Linked DNA regions of Homo sapiens: region 2 is linked to region 1. Evidence: promoter capture Hi-C in human tissues and cell types (Jung and others, 2019). All regions are on one chromosome and are shown on one strand. The core of a region is centred on a gene start or on the middle of the fragment in contact, and the rest is flanking DNA. Distances in the headings are between cores, read along the strand shown.

Evidence for each region. The method cuts DNA at HindIII sites, captures the fragments that hold promoters and counts their contacts. A contact is called where the count stands out against the background at its distance.
Region 2: a contact is called between a fragment that was not itself captured here and the fragment with the promoter of DIRAS1 in region 1, in 1 of the 25 tissues and cell types used here (dorsolateral prefrontal cortex).

Annotation. Positions count from the first base shown.
Region 1 is chr19:2,717,587-2,724,780 of GRCh38, forward strand. It overlaps DIRAS1 (DIRAS family GTPase 1), which reads right to left and starts at 3,786. Exons shown (of 2, transcript NM_145173.4): 1 at 3,718-3,786; 2 at 1-289. The coding sequence starts at 220. RefSeq lists an enhancer at 5,991-6,903. The HindIII fragment of the contact is 24,571 bases long and covers 1-7,194 here.
Region 2 is chr19:3,152,425-3,159,618 of GRCh38, forward strand. GNA15 (G protein subunit alpha 15) reads left to right here. Exons shown (of 7, transcript NM_002068.4): 5 at 3,399-3,528; 6 at 5,304-5,457. It overlaps GNA15-DT (GNA15 divergent transcript), which reads right to left and starts at 2,751. Exons shown (of 4, transcript NR_110670.1): 1 at 2,594-2,751. RefSeq lists enhancers at 2,367-3,324, 2,612-2,941, 2,982-3,071. The HindIII fragment of the contact is 4,542 bases long and covers 1,894-6,435 here.

The DNA.
Region 1 (7,194 bases), core at 2,536-5,035:
GGCGCTGCATGGCCGGGAACTGGTGGCTGCCGGTGGTGTCTGTGATCTGCAGCGTGCACACGCTCTTGTCGCAGCTGATCACCTGCCGGTAGGTGTCCTCGATGGTGGGGATGTAGGTGTCGCGGAACGTGCCCTTCACGAAGCGCAGCACCAGCGAGCTCTTGCCCACGCCGCCCGCCCCGAACACCACCACGCGGTAATCGTTACTCTGTTCCGGCATCTTCCCCGCGGCGGGTGGGCGGCCGGGGCCGGGAGGGCTGGTGCCAGCTGCAAGAACCCCAGACCGAGCCTGTGCAGAGAGGAGGGTCACACGTCAAAGGCCACCCAGGCTTGAGGGGACAGCCCCACGCCCCGGGGAGGGAGGAGGACATGGCGGCTTCTCAGAGGAGGTGGCTGCCGTGCCTCCTGCCTCCTGAAAAGGCCCATTTGCTTGTGGCTGACTTTGCAGTTCTGTCCCACAGGCGGGCGCACAGCCAACACCCTTTGCTTACTTCTCCCTAACAAAATCTGGGGCCTGAGCTTCCCCGGGGGACGCTGAGCTAGGAGAGGCGTGGGAGACGCCGGGATGCCCACGAAACTCCTTCCCCGGGTGTGGGTGTCCCTTCCAGGCTGTGCCAGCTTCCCCCTCTCTTCCCAGTGTGGCAGGGGCCCCTGGAAGCTAGCAGGCCTGGCTTCCACCTCTCGCTCCACACCTGCCTGGCTCTGAGACCTTGCCGAGCCATCATGCCACCCTGAGCCTGTTTGGTGGCTCAAACGGTGCCCGTCTCCAACAACCATGGGTCCCCTGCTCTTCCGCCAACCCAGAGATGGCCAATCCTCATGGAAGCCGCACATGGTCGGGTGTTTAAGATGCATATGTCAGGGCCGCAGCCCTAGGTGTGATGAATCGGTCGGCCAGGGCAACGGCCCTGGGAACTCGTATTTTATTTTATTCTTCTTATTTATTTATTTATTTTTAGACAGAGTTTCGCTCTTGCTGCCCAGGCTGGAGTGCAATGGCACAATCTTGGCTCGCCGCAACCTCCACCTCCCGGGTTCAAGCTATTCTCTTGCCTCAGCCTCCCAAGTAGCTAGGATTACAGGCATGCACCACAAAGCCCGGCTAATTTTATATTTTTAGTAGAGGCAGGGTTTCTCCATGTTGGTCAGGCAGGTCTTGAACTCCTGACCTCAGGTGATCCACCCACCTCGGCCTCCCAAAGTGCTGGGGTTACAGGCGTGAGCCACTGCACCTGGCCTTCTTATTTTTTTTAAAACCAAGTCTTGCTCTGTTGCCCAGGTTGGAGTTCAGTGGTGCAATCTCGGCTCACTGCAACCTCTGCCTCCTCGGTTCAAGCAATTCTCCTGCCTCAGCCTCCAGAGTAGCTGGGATTACAGGCATGCACCACCACACCCGGCTAATTTTTGTATTTTCAGTAGAGACGGGGTTTCGCCATGTTGGCCAGGCTGGTCTTGAACTCCTGACCTCAGGTGCTCCTCTCGCCTCGGGCTCCCAAAGTGCTGGGATTCCAGGTGTGAGACACCGCATCCAGCTGGAACTTGTATTACAGGGCTGCTCTCCTCACCTGCCATAAATGGGATCCTGAGGCTGGGAATCTGAGAACCACAATTTGCAAATCAGGGCACTGATTCCCAATAGCCGCCCCAGGGAGGAAGGGTCTTGCAGCCCAGGTGGGACACAAAAATACAAAATCCAGAAGCTGAACGGGAAAATCGCCACTCCCTAAACTCTAAAATCAAACTATGGCCTGGTGTGCCCTAGCCCCTCCCGTTCAGGTCTGAAGGATCCTTAGAATAGCACTTCCTGGGAGGGGCACCTCTTAGCCCCTCTCTTCCTTCTTGGGCTCAGAGAGGTCCAGCAGCCTGAGGAGGTCACACAGCACAGCAGATCCTGAAATGATGGAGGTGGGGGAAGAACGCTGGGGGGAGGGCGGGTGGCTTATCTCCAGAATTGATGTCCTCCCCTCCCCTTCCTCCTTCCAGGCTCTGGGGCAGCGGTGGGGGGTGGGGGAGGGGTGTTCCCCAGCAAGGTGGTCTACAGTGGGAGAGGAGGAGGAACCAGTTTCTACCTGCTGCACTGGGGGTGGGGGTGTGTTTATGGGGAGGGTCCAGAGGTTCCCCGGGGGTCAGTGGTTTGAACCTAAACAGGCAAATTCAAGTCCCTAAGCCTCCGTTTTCTCTTCTGTGAAATGCGAGCCACTGTTGGGGCAAGTAAGGTGACAAGGTGGAGAAAGGCCCTAGGCAGTGCCCTGTACAGCGGAGACCCCGATCACAATTGTGATCACAGTCACAAGGGCTTGGGGCCGGTGGGCAGGGCACTTGGCTGTGCCTGTTGGTTGCAAAGGCACCTTCTGGATTATCAAGGGTAACAGATTTGCCAGGAAAAGAAAAGAGGCTGATGAAAGCGCCAGCTGACACAGTCCCCAGTTGTGATGAGCCAGGCAAACTTCTGGGCGCCTCGGCAATGCCAACTCATGTGATTGGCTGCCGGGTTTGTGGACTACATGCATAGTAATTTCTCGGCATTCGGAGGAGGCTGGGGGTGCTGGTGGTGGGGGGGAGGCGGCCTGTGCTGCAGACCCTGCCCTTTCCTGGGTGGGCGCCCTGAGAGGCGGGCACGCTGCTGTGCAGAAAGACGCCACCAAGACCGGCCTGGGGTCCTAATGGCCATGGGTTCTGTGGACCCAGATCCAGCCTTTGCCTTGCTGCGGGCACTGAAGCTCCAGCCCCCATGAGCAGTACTGTCCTCCCCGCTGGGTCTGGAATCCCTGACCAGAAAGGCGCTTGCACTCAACAGCCCCGAAGCCCACGCCACTTCCCACCTCCACCGCCTGGGGGGTGCGGGTGGAGGGAGGGGGTCGTGGGCACCGAGGCAGGAGCAGGAGGGGCTGGCTCAAGGTCACAGAGCAGGGGGGTGGAGGCGCACAGCGGGGCTGGAAGCCCACCCTGCTTGGCTAGACTCCTGGGGTTTCCCGCCTGTGCGGGGCAGCCCACCCCCAGACGTCCAGGCAGGGCCAATCTACCCCAGCCCTGGGTCCCTGAAGCCCGGCTCCCGGCCGGGCACGGCGTGGTTGGTGGGGGCGGGGGTGTCAAAGCAAAGCTCAGGGTCAGGAAAGCAGAGAGAGCCGCGACCCAGGGGTCTAGCGGGGGTCACGCCTGACCAAGGGTGGGGCGGGGGTCTGACCCAGGGCCGCCTGGCCGGTGAGGGGTTTGATGGAGAAAGGGCCTGCTCTAGGGGGCCCGAGGGCGCAGAGGCACAGTGCGGGGCCAGCCCAGGGGCGACCCTTGACTCAGGAGGACCTCAGTGGTGGAGAGGAGGAGCCCACCCCGGGGAGGGGGCGCGGAGGGAGGGGCTTGGCTGGGCAGCGGGGCGGAGGGCGAAGAAGGCGGCTGCAGGAGGGAGGAGGCCCTGCCCGAGGGGACCAATGCGGAGAGGGGCGGCGGGGTGGGCCTCGGTGGGGCGGGCTCGGCAGGGGGGCGCCCTCCGGGTGGGGGAGGGGAGGCGGCCGGGAGCTGTCCAAGGTGAGCGCGGAGGGGCCGGCCGGGCCCGGCGGGAAGGGACGGGGGACGCCCGGCGAGGGGCCCCGGAGCCACGCGGGGAAGGGCCCGGCCCCAAGGCCCGGGAGGCTGGGGCCGGGACAAAGGAGGGACGCGCGGCGGGGAGGACGGCCGGCTGGGGGCTGCGCAGGGACCCCCTCCCCGCCCCGGGCCGCCTACCTGGGCCCGCTGGTCCCTGCGGCGCCGCGGCCGCTGCTCCTGCCCGCTCCGGTGTCCGCTGGCGCCGCCGCCCCCCGCCCGCCCGAGCCGCCGCAGTCGCGCCCGCGCCGTCCCCGCCCGCCGGGCCCCGCGCTCCGCCCCGCCCCGCCCCGCCCCGCCCCGCCCCGGGGACCCGCGCCCACGGGGCCGGCGCGCCGCCCGGCCAAGGTCACCGCCGCCCCACGCGGGACCCCTGCCCGCGCCCGGGGTGGGAGAGGTCGCCAGGATCCGGGACCCCCGCCCTGCCACGTAGCCACCTGCGCGCGCCCTCCCTCGGGGTGGGAGCTGGGGCCGCTTCCCGGGGAACCCCGAGTGGGGGCCAGGAGCCCGGCTTGGGAGGAGCAGAGTCCAGCCGGGGGTGGAGGGCTTTGGCAGAAATGCGGATAAAGGGGGTGCAGAACGGGACCCCTGAGGCCGGCTGGGGCCCGGTCACACGCAGGGCGGGGAATCAGAGGGGTGCGTTGTGAAATGAGTAAGTCGATAATCAACAATCAATGAACAGGTTTAGAAGCGGGCAGAGGCGGGAGGGTTCAGGTCAATGGGGTGCACCTGGAGGCCCACCCATCCCAGGGGCCTGGGCAGGGGCGGGATGGGGGCAGAAGCGGACTCAGCGCTCTGTAGGGCTGGTTTTGTGGAGGCGGAGGCAGCCCATGGCAGTCAGGCCTAGGGAGGTGGGGGGTGAGCAAAGGGGGCTGGCGCTGCTCTGCAGCGGATGGGTTTGCCGTTTTCGGTTAGGAAAATGTTTGTGTTCCCCCAACAGGAGGTGTCTTAGGGGAGCACTGGCTTTTCTGATGCGTCTGTGTGTCCACAAGAGACCATGGTTCCGCCTCCATTTTGGAGACCGGGAGGCCGAGGTTCCTTTTGGCCTCATCGGGCAGATCCCAGAGGAGACTGGACTTTGGGGTCTAGTGACCAGGCCAGAAGGTGCTCTCAGGGGTGGGTGCGGGACAGTCCCAGGCCGCAAGGCTGTCAGAGGAAGGCGCCCCTTGGTGGAGAGGCCAACTCTGGGACCCACAGGGGTCTCTCCAGAGTCAGAGCCATCAGTGGGTGAGAGGCTGGTCTGGAAGGTGGTGAGCTCCCCATCACCAGGCCTGTGAGCAGGTGAACCCCTTGGGCCCTCAGCTCCTGGGGTTCTCCATGACCCACCATTTCCATGGCCCTGGATGAGGTGGGCCCATCTGCCTCTGCGGAGACTTGGCACTGCCTCCAAGACCACTCAGTCCCCTCTCCTGTTGCCACTGAGGCTGGGGCACTGAGGTTCAAGCGGCTTTGGGGCTCAAGGAGCTCTATTTCTCCCTGATTTGACCCCACTCCCCCTCCTGGCCTCCAGACCCCTTCCTCCAGCCCTCCTTCCACTCTGCCACTCAATGCTCCAACTGCAACATGGGCCTCCCCTGCTCTAACGCCACCCATGGCTCCCTTCTCCCAGGCCAAGGTCCAGCTTCTCAGCCTGGCATCCATGGCCCGGCCTGAGTGCTCCTGGCGTGCACCTCCCTCCCACCCTGACCCCAGCCCTGCGGGAGCACCTCAGAGCATGGCCCGGCCCCTGACCCTCATCTGGGGGTGCCCTCAGCAGGAGATGGAGACAGCCCTGAGGGCAGACAAATCCCAGCTTCTGCTCTACATGGCTGCCTGCAGGGAAGTGCCTTCTCAAGCATCGGTTCCCCCATCTGTGAGTGACGTCACTGTTGCCCGCCTGTAGGGTTGCTGGGAACACATGGGCAGGGCGCCCACCTACACGGGGCTGCTGGGCACCCAAGCACTCAGACGGCAGCCCTGCCCCTTCCCAGTCCGCCTGCCTGCCTTCGTCTCCTGAGTGACCCACCAGCGTGGGGCAGGGCGTCGGGCCGGCTCCCTGTCTCCTCCGGGCACCAGCTCAGGCCGGGGCAGGCTGACTCATGCGTAGGAGAGTGGGCAGGGCGGTAACTCCACGCTGCGGCTGCTATTTATAGCTCCCAGGCCAGGCTGTGGGCCGCGTGAGCCGGCGAGGCCAGGCCCTGTTCCCCTCCTCGCTGTCCCTGAGGAACGGGGTCTCCACACATGGCCCGCGGTGCCCAGGCCACAGATGGCAGTGAGCTCTTCCGAGCACCCAAACTAGGACAGCAGGAGCTTCTCCCCCATGGTGGGCCGGGGAGCAGAGGGTTCCGCCTGGCCTTTGTGAGTGGGGGTGGGTGGGCGCCCCAGCTCTGCCTCTCCATGGAAAGGTCCGTGATCCAAATCTCAGGGGCCAGGGCACTTGCACACTGGGGCACTGAGCAAGCCGGGGCTGGCACTGGAGTTTCCTGGGTTCCCTGCTGCCTCTCATACCCGAGTCCCTCTTTGGAGAGTCCCTCGGCATCCTGAGAGGCACAGAGGTGGGCGAGGAGGACTGAGGCCGGCTGCATCTTTGCCAAAGAGAAGAGGACCTGTCAACCTCTCCAGCTCGCGAGCTGGGCAGGATCCACAGGCGTCCACGTTGAGTCCCCAGGGTGAAACCCACCGGGGCAGTCTGCATGGGTCCTGCAAACACAAAGTGCCAGTGTAGTGGGTGCTGGGCCCTCAGCAGTCTGTACAAGGCCACTGTCCCTGCTCCCATCTGGAAACTGCTGCTCAGAGAAGGGAAGCGGCTCGCCCACGGTGGCCTAGTGGGAAAGAGGTCGGTCCGGATCCATCAGGCTCTGAAGCCATAGCCCAGCCTGCTGGGGATAGACGGCCACCCCCTTGTGATCCTCTTGCCCTGTCCCTGGCTATCTGCAGTCTTGTCCTGGGGACACTCGGCCGGTCCTGCCTTACAGATCTCCTTTCAGCAGAACAGCAAGGGACGGCGTTCATCTGCAATGTCCAGCTCCTCCCCCGGCCCTGCAGCTCCACGACCGCTCTCCTCACCCTGCTGCCCTGACCAGGGCCACGTGGGCCTCACTGAGCCCCGGCTAGCCTTTGGAGAGGAGGGCAGTGGGGTCCGGCCTCAGCTCTCTTCAGTGGTCTCTGGACCATGTGGGCAAAGCCGAGGTTGCACATCCTGGCCTCAGGGGGCAGAGTCACCCCAGGGGCTCAGCCACACAGTTGCTTTTCAAGTTTAGCATCTGTCAATCAATCAGTCAATCAATCTACCACCTATCTATCTATCATCTATCAATCATCTATCTGTCATCTATCAATTAATCTATCAATCATCATTTATTAATCATTTACCTATTATCTATCAATCATCTGTCACCTGTTCATCTATTATCTATTAATCATCTACTTATCTATCTATCTATCGAGACAGGGTCTCACTCCGCCACCTAAGCTGGAGTGCGTGGTGAGGTCGCAGATCACTGCAGCCTTGACTTTCTGGGCTCGAGCAATCCTTCCTCCTCAGCCGCCTGAGTAGCTGGGACTACAGGCACACACCACCAGGCCCGGCTAATTTTAAAAAATTTTTCTCGGCCGGGCACGATGGCTCATGCCTGTAAT
Region 2 (7,194 bases), core at 2,915-5,414, 440 kb after region 1:
ATGGGGGTAGACAGTGGAGCCGGTGGGCTAGAGGATGAAAAGGTGGTGATGGAGTCCTTTGGGACAGGTTGAGTCTGAGGGGCCTAGGGGGACTCCACCTTAGCTGGCAGACAGAGGTGGGAATGGCCAGTGCAGCACCCTAACCCTAACCCTAACCCAGCAGAGCAATGGCCAATGTCAAAGGTCAGGAAAGGAAAGGTCAAGAATACAGTGAGAAGAATGACTCTGGGATTGGCAGTTAGAGGGTCACTGGTGACCTTAGCAAGATCTGTTTCCATGGGCTGATGGCGGGGAGCTGAGCAGGGGTGCAAAGTCATGCCCAGAGACAGCGATTGTGTTTGACCTACCCCTATTTGGCCTTCCTTTCCCTAAATCCCCCAAACCTATTGTTTTGGCCTCTTCAATAGTCCTTACTAGGAAGGTTCATAATTTATCTGTTTTCTGTGGGTCTCCTCTACAAGATGGAGAGCCTCACAAGGTTAGGGGCTGAGTTTGATTCTTCTGCTTCTTTAGTGAATAGCTAAAGGTCAGAGTAGAAGTTGGTAAATGTGGGTGGATGGTTGGAAAGATGGAATGGGGGCAACCCGCTCGGGTCCCCTTCCACGCTGTGGAAGCTTTGTTCTTTCGCTCTTCACAATAAATCTTGCTGCTGCTCACTCTTTGGGTCCACACCACCTTTAAGAGCTGTAACACTTACTGCGAAGGTCTGCGGCTTCATTCTTGAAGTCAGCGAGACCGAGAACCCACGAGAAGGAACCAGCTCTGGGACACAATAGTAGTGTTAGTACCCAAGGATGACTTCTATGGGAGAGATACTTGGTCTGGGAATCTTTAAAAAAAAAAAAAAAGGAAAGATGGAAGGGAATGGATGGGTGGATGAATGGGTGGATGGATAGATGAATAGATGGATGGATAAGTTGAGGGATAGATGAGTGGATGGATGGAGTGGCAGGATGGATGAGTGGATGAATCAATGGATAGATGGATGAGTGGGTGGATGGATGAATGGATGGATAGATGGATGGATTGAAAGAGGGATGAGTGGATGGATGGATGGATGGATGGTTAGATGGGTGGATGGGTGATACATGAATGGATGAGTGGGTGGATGAGTGGATAGATGGATAGATGGGTGGATGAATGGGTGGATGGATGGGTGAATGAGTGGATGGATGAATTAATGGGTAGATGGGTGGAAGGGTGATGGGTGAATGGATGGGTGGGTGGATTGGTGAGTGAAGGATGGATGGATGAGTGGATAGATGGATGGGTGGGTGGGATGGATGAATGGATGGATGAATGGGTGGGTGAATGCATGGATGGATGGGTGGATGAGTGGATGGATGGATGAATGAATGGGTAGATGGGTGGCAGGTGATGGATGAATGAATGAATAAATGGGTGAATGGGTGAGTGAAGGATGGATGGATGAGTGGGTGAATGGATGGATGAATGGATGAGTGGATGGGGGTGTGGGTGGGTGGATGGGTAGATGGGTGGACGAGTGAGTGGATAGATGGGTAGATGGATGTATGAGTAGATGGATAATGGGTGAACAGATGGGTGGATGGATAGATGAGTAGATGAAGCGATGGATGGATGGGTGGATTGAGTAAATGGGTGGACAGGCAGGTGGATGATGGATGGATGAATAGATGGGTAGATGGATAGACGGATAGATGGATGGATGAGTGAATGAATAGATGGATGGGTGGATGGATAGATGGATGGATGGGTGGGATGGATGGATGGATGGATGGATGAATGGGTGGATGGATGGGTGGATGAGTGGATGGATGGATGAATGAATGGGTAGATGGGTGGTGGGTGATGGATGGATGGATGAATGGGTGGATGGATGGGTGGATGAGTGGATGGATGGATGAATGAATGGGTAGATGGGTGGTGGGTGACGGATGAATGGATGAATGGGTGGATGGGTGAGTGGATGAATGGATGAGTGGATGGGTGGGAGGGTGGGTGGATGGGTACATGGGTGGATGAGTGAGTGGATAGATGGGTAGATGGATGGATGGGTAGCTGGGTAATGGGTGGACAGATGGGTGGATGGATGGATGGATGAGTAAATGGAGAGATGGATGGGTGGGTCGGTGGGTGGATTTCGTAAATGGGTGGACAGGTGGATGGATGATGGATGGATGGATAGATGGGTAGATGGATAGATGGATGGATGAGTGAATGGCTGGATGGGTGGATGGATGGGTGGGTGGATGGATGATGGATGGATGGATAGATGGGTAGATGGATAGATGGATGGATGAGTGAATGGCTGGATGGGTGGATGGATGAGTGGGTGGGTGGATGGGTGGATGGATGAGTGAATAAATCGATGAATGGGGTGGGTGGGTGGATAAAAGTTTAGGAGTGAAGGTAGAGGCTGGGAAATCATGGGGAAGTCTGGGCCAAGGAAGTGATTTTTAGGTGTGGCCCAGGAGTGAGACGAATGAATGGAGTGAGGGCTCAGAGGACACTGAGACCCGAGATGAGAGGTGATGCCCACAGTTCCCAACTGGTCAGTTGCTGATCCCACTCCCGTCTCAGTCTCCAGAGCCCCCTCTCGACGGCTGCTTACCCTGTCTGGCTCTGGATGTGGGGTTTGAGGGACTCTGAGGATGCATGGGAGGAGTGGGTCTCAGGGATCAGGAGACACATCCAGCAGCTGCAGCCTAACTGCTTCATCATCAGTCCCGGTTTCCCCTCCTGTGCAATGGGGCAAGTCCCTTCTTGCTTGAGGCCCTGGGCCGGGCCCGTCCAAAGCCTCTGTTCTGGGACTTCCTGAGTAACGGTTGCATCCCCAGGGAAATGACGCACAGATGGTTATCAGCGACCCACATTTCTCAGAAGAGAGAGAACAGGAAGGTGGGGGCAGGGTTCAGGCTTTTGTTACGGTGCGTGGGGCTGAGTCACAGATGGAGGGGAGGACGTGTGCTCTGGGAACAGCCCTCATTCCCATCTGTGTGGCCACTGGACATGCCCATGGCCAGCCAGAGCACAGGAGCCCCATAGCACAGATGGGAAAACTGAGTTTTGGAGATGTTTGGCAATTTCCTCCGCCGGGTCGCCCAGCCAGCACCAGGGCACATCTCAGATCTGTCCAACCTGCTCCCCTCTAATATGGGGGTAGAAAGCAGGCAGCCCAGCACAGTAGAAGCTTGGGAAAGTCCCCGCTCCTCCCTGGATCTCAGGCTTCTCATCTGTAAAATGGGCGTAAGACTCATCCTTGCCTCGCGGGAATGACATGGCAAATCCACGAGAGGCTAGCACCTATTCTTGCTGTCGCTATTATGGATCTTGGCATATCCCAGACGTGATGGGGGTTGGGGGTGTCACGGAGCAGGCTCCTGAGCTCTGAAAGGGGGCACCTCGGTTCCCTGTAGGATCGTGGACGTCGGGGGCCAGAAGTCAGAGCGTAAGAAATGGATCCATTGTTTCGAGAACGTGATCGCCCTCATCTACCTGGCCTCACTGAGTGAATACGACCAGTGCCTGGAGGAGAACAACCAGGAGGTGCGCCACCGCCTCCCTCGCCCTGCCCACTTGTTGGCCCAGGGACCCTCACCTGAGCAGGAAGCTCTGGTGCAGAAAGGGAGGGATCCCTGCTCTTGAACGGGCCTGTGTGTGCCCAGCATGGCTATGAACTTGACCCTTCAGCCTTTTGTGGTCAGATTGCAGCAACCCAAGACACAGACCTACAGCATTTGTTTGGTCAGGACCCCAGACACACACACACACACACACACACACACACACACACACACTACAGTGCACACACGCACATACACAATGCATGCACACAAACACGCACAGACACGTGCATAATACATGCACATACACACGTGCACACACGGGACACATGTACACACGCAGTGCACATGCACAACACATGCACACGAACACACATGCACCACACACATGCACACTTGCATGCACTCACGTGCACAATACACGCATATGTACACATGCGCACACACATGAACACACACATGCACACACACAGTACACACATGCACACGCACACACAGGCACACACACGCACACACAGGCACACAGGCACACACATGCGTGCACACACACATGCACGCACACGCACAGGCTGGAGTGCAGTGGCGCGATCTCGGCTCACTGGAAACTCCGCCTCCCGGGTTCACACCATTCTCCTGCCTCAGCCTCCGGAGTAGGTGGGATTACAGGCACCCGCCACCACGCTCGGCTAATTTTTTTTTTGTATTCTTAGAAGAGAGGGGGTTTCACCATGTTAGCCAGGATGGTCTCAATCTCCTGACCTCGTGATCCGCCCGCCTCGGCCTCCCAAAGTGCTGGGATTACAGGCGTGAGCCACTGTGCCCAGCCAATAGCCTCTTTTAATAAGTACACCAGTCGTCTAGGATCAGGGCCCACCCTACTCCAGTACGACCTCATCTGGGTTAATTCCTCGTGTGATGGCCCTGTTTCCAAAGAAGGTCACAAACTGAGGTTCTAGGGGGTTAGGTCTTGAACGTATGAATTTTGGGGAAATATGATGTACCCCATAACACAAGGCATTTGAGACCTTATTGTACTTTTTTTTTTGAGATGGAGTCTCGCTTTTGTCGCCCAGGTTAGAGTGCAGTGGCGCGATCTCAGCTCACTGCAACCTCCGCCTCCCGGGTTCAAGCGATTTTCCTGCCTCAGCCTCCCGAGTAGCTGGGTTTACAGGCACCTGCCATCATGCCCGGCTAATTTTTTGTATTTTTAGTAGAAACGGGGTTTCACCATGTTAGCCAGGCTGGTCTCCAACTCCTGGCCTCAGGTGATCTGCCCGCCTTGGCCTCCCAAAGTGCTAGGATTACAGCCGTGAGCTGCCGCGCCCGGCCAGGTCTCCCTCTTCTTATGAGGACAGCAGTCACGGACTTGAGGGCCACCGTATTCTAGTATTGCCTCACCTTAACGACCTCTTCAAAGACCCTATCTCCAGGCCAGGTGCAGTGGTTCATGCCTATAACCCCAGCACGCTGGGAGGCCAGGAGTTCAAGAATCTCTCTCCAGATAAGGTCACACTCTGAAGCTCTGGGGGGACATGAATTTCGGGAGGACACACTTCCAACCAGCACAGGCACAAAACCATGTCAGGCACACCCAGGCAGCTGTCCATATGGAAACACGGGCACACCCGCCTCAGCCCCAGCCAGGCAGATAGGGGTGAGCCCATGCCCCTGGAGCCAACAGCCCCGTCTCCGCGATGGGAGGGTTTCCTGTCCCACCTGGCTGGTTGAAGCACTAACCTGCTTCTGCCCCCAACACAGAACCGCATGAAGGAGAGCCTCGCATTGTTTGGGACTATCCTGGAACTACCCTGGTTCAAAAGCACATCCGTCATCCTCTTTCTCAACAAAACCGACATCCTGGAGGAGAAAATCCCCACCTCCCACCTGGCTACCTATTTCCCCAGTTTCCAGGGTAAGTAATTCTAGAACTTTCTATACCCTTCAACTCCCAAAAGCAGCTCCGAAGAGAGATGCTAATCCAGACTCTACTTCAGCCTGGAGTCACCGGAACTTTCACATAGGATCAGACCCGCGTTCTAGACTCAGCTCCATCCACTGCCCGACCTCATTGAATCTGTTTTCCCTTCTGTGGAATGGAATAAAATAGCAGAGGCCCTTGGAACTGAGTAAAGTGAGGAATTCTAAAAACACGTAGCATATCACGTACACCTTAAACATTTTATTTATTTATTTATTTTTGAGACAGAGTCTTGCTCTGTCACCAGGCTGGAGTGCAGTGGCGTGATCTCGGCTCACTGCAACCTTTCCCTCCAGAGTTCAAGCGATTCTCCTACCTCAGCCTCCCTAGTAGCTGGAACTACAGGTGCGCGCCACCACGCCCAGCTAATTTTTGTGTTTTTAGTACGAAAAGACGGGATTTCACCATGTTGACCAGGATAGTCTCGATCACTTGACCTCCTGATCCACCCGCCTCAGCCTCCCAAAGTGCTAGGATTATAGACAGGAGCCACCATGCCCGGCCAAACATTTTATTTTATGCTTGTTGGCCAACATTTGGGGTTTGAGCCAAGATCCTTCAAGCATGGGTTTGCTATGTAGAGGTCACTGTTGTAAAGCACTTCTGGAAAGATTGTCTACTATTTCCAGAATCTGCCTAGGTTTTAAGAATGATTCTTTTTCTTTTCTTTCTTTCTTCTATTTTTTCTTTTTGAGACAGAGTCTCACTCTGTCACCCAGGCTGGAGTACAGTGGTGCGATCTTGGCTCATGGCAACCTCCAACTCCCCGGTTCAAGTGATTCTCCTGCCTTAGCCTCCCAAGTAGCTGTGATTACAGGCACGTGCCACCAAGCCTGGCTAATTTTTAGTAGTTTCCTGTCCTATTTTTAGTAGAGATGGGGTTTCACCATGTTGGTCAGGCTGGTCTCGAACTGACCTCAAGTGATCCACCTACCTCAGCCTCCCAAAGTGCTGGGATTACGGGCGTGAGCCACCGCATCTGGCCATAACGTTTCTTTTTCTAATCTTTCATAGTGATCTCATCTATCCCTAATTGGATAGCAATTTCTTTTTCTTTAATCCATTTTTTCTTTAATTTTTTTTTGTTTGTTTTTTGAGACGGAGTCTCGCTCTGCTGCCCAGGCTGGAGTGCAGTGGCGCAATCTCAGCTCACTGCAAGCTCTGCCTCCTGGGTTCACACCATTCTGCTGCCTCAGCCTCCCGAGTAGCTGGGATTACAGGTGCCCGCCAGAACGTCTGGCTAGTTTTTTGTATTTTTGGTCGAGATGGGGTTTCATCATGTTACCCAGGTTGGTCTCAATCTCCTGACCTCATGATCCACCTGTCTCGGCCTCCCAAAGTGCTGGGATTACAGGCGTGAGCCATCGTGCCCAGTCTATTTTTTCTTTAATTTCTTTTCTTTTTTTTTTTTTTTTTGAGATGGAGTTTTGCTCTTTTTGCCCAGGCTGGAGTGCAATGGCACAATCTCGGCTCACCGCAACCTCCGCCTCCCGGGTTCAAGGGATTCTCCTGCCTCAGCCTCCCGAGTAGCTGGGATTGCAGGCATGAGCCACCACCCCGGCTAATTTTGTGTTTTTAGTAGAGACGGGGTTTCTCCATGTTGGTCAGGCTGGACTTGAACTCCCGACCTCAGGTGATCCACCCGCCTCGGCCTCAAAGTGCTGGGATTAC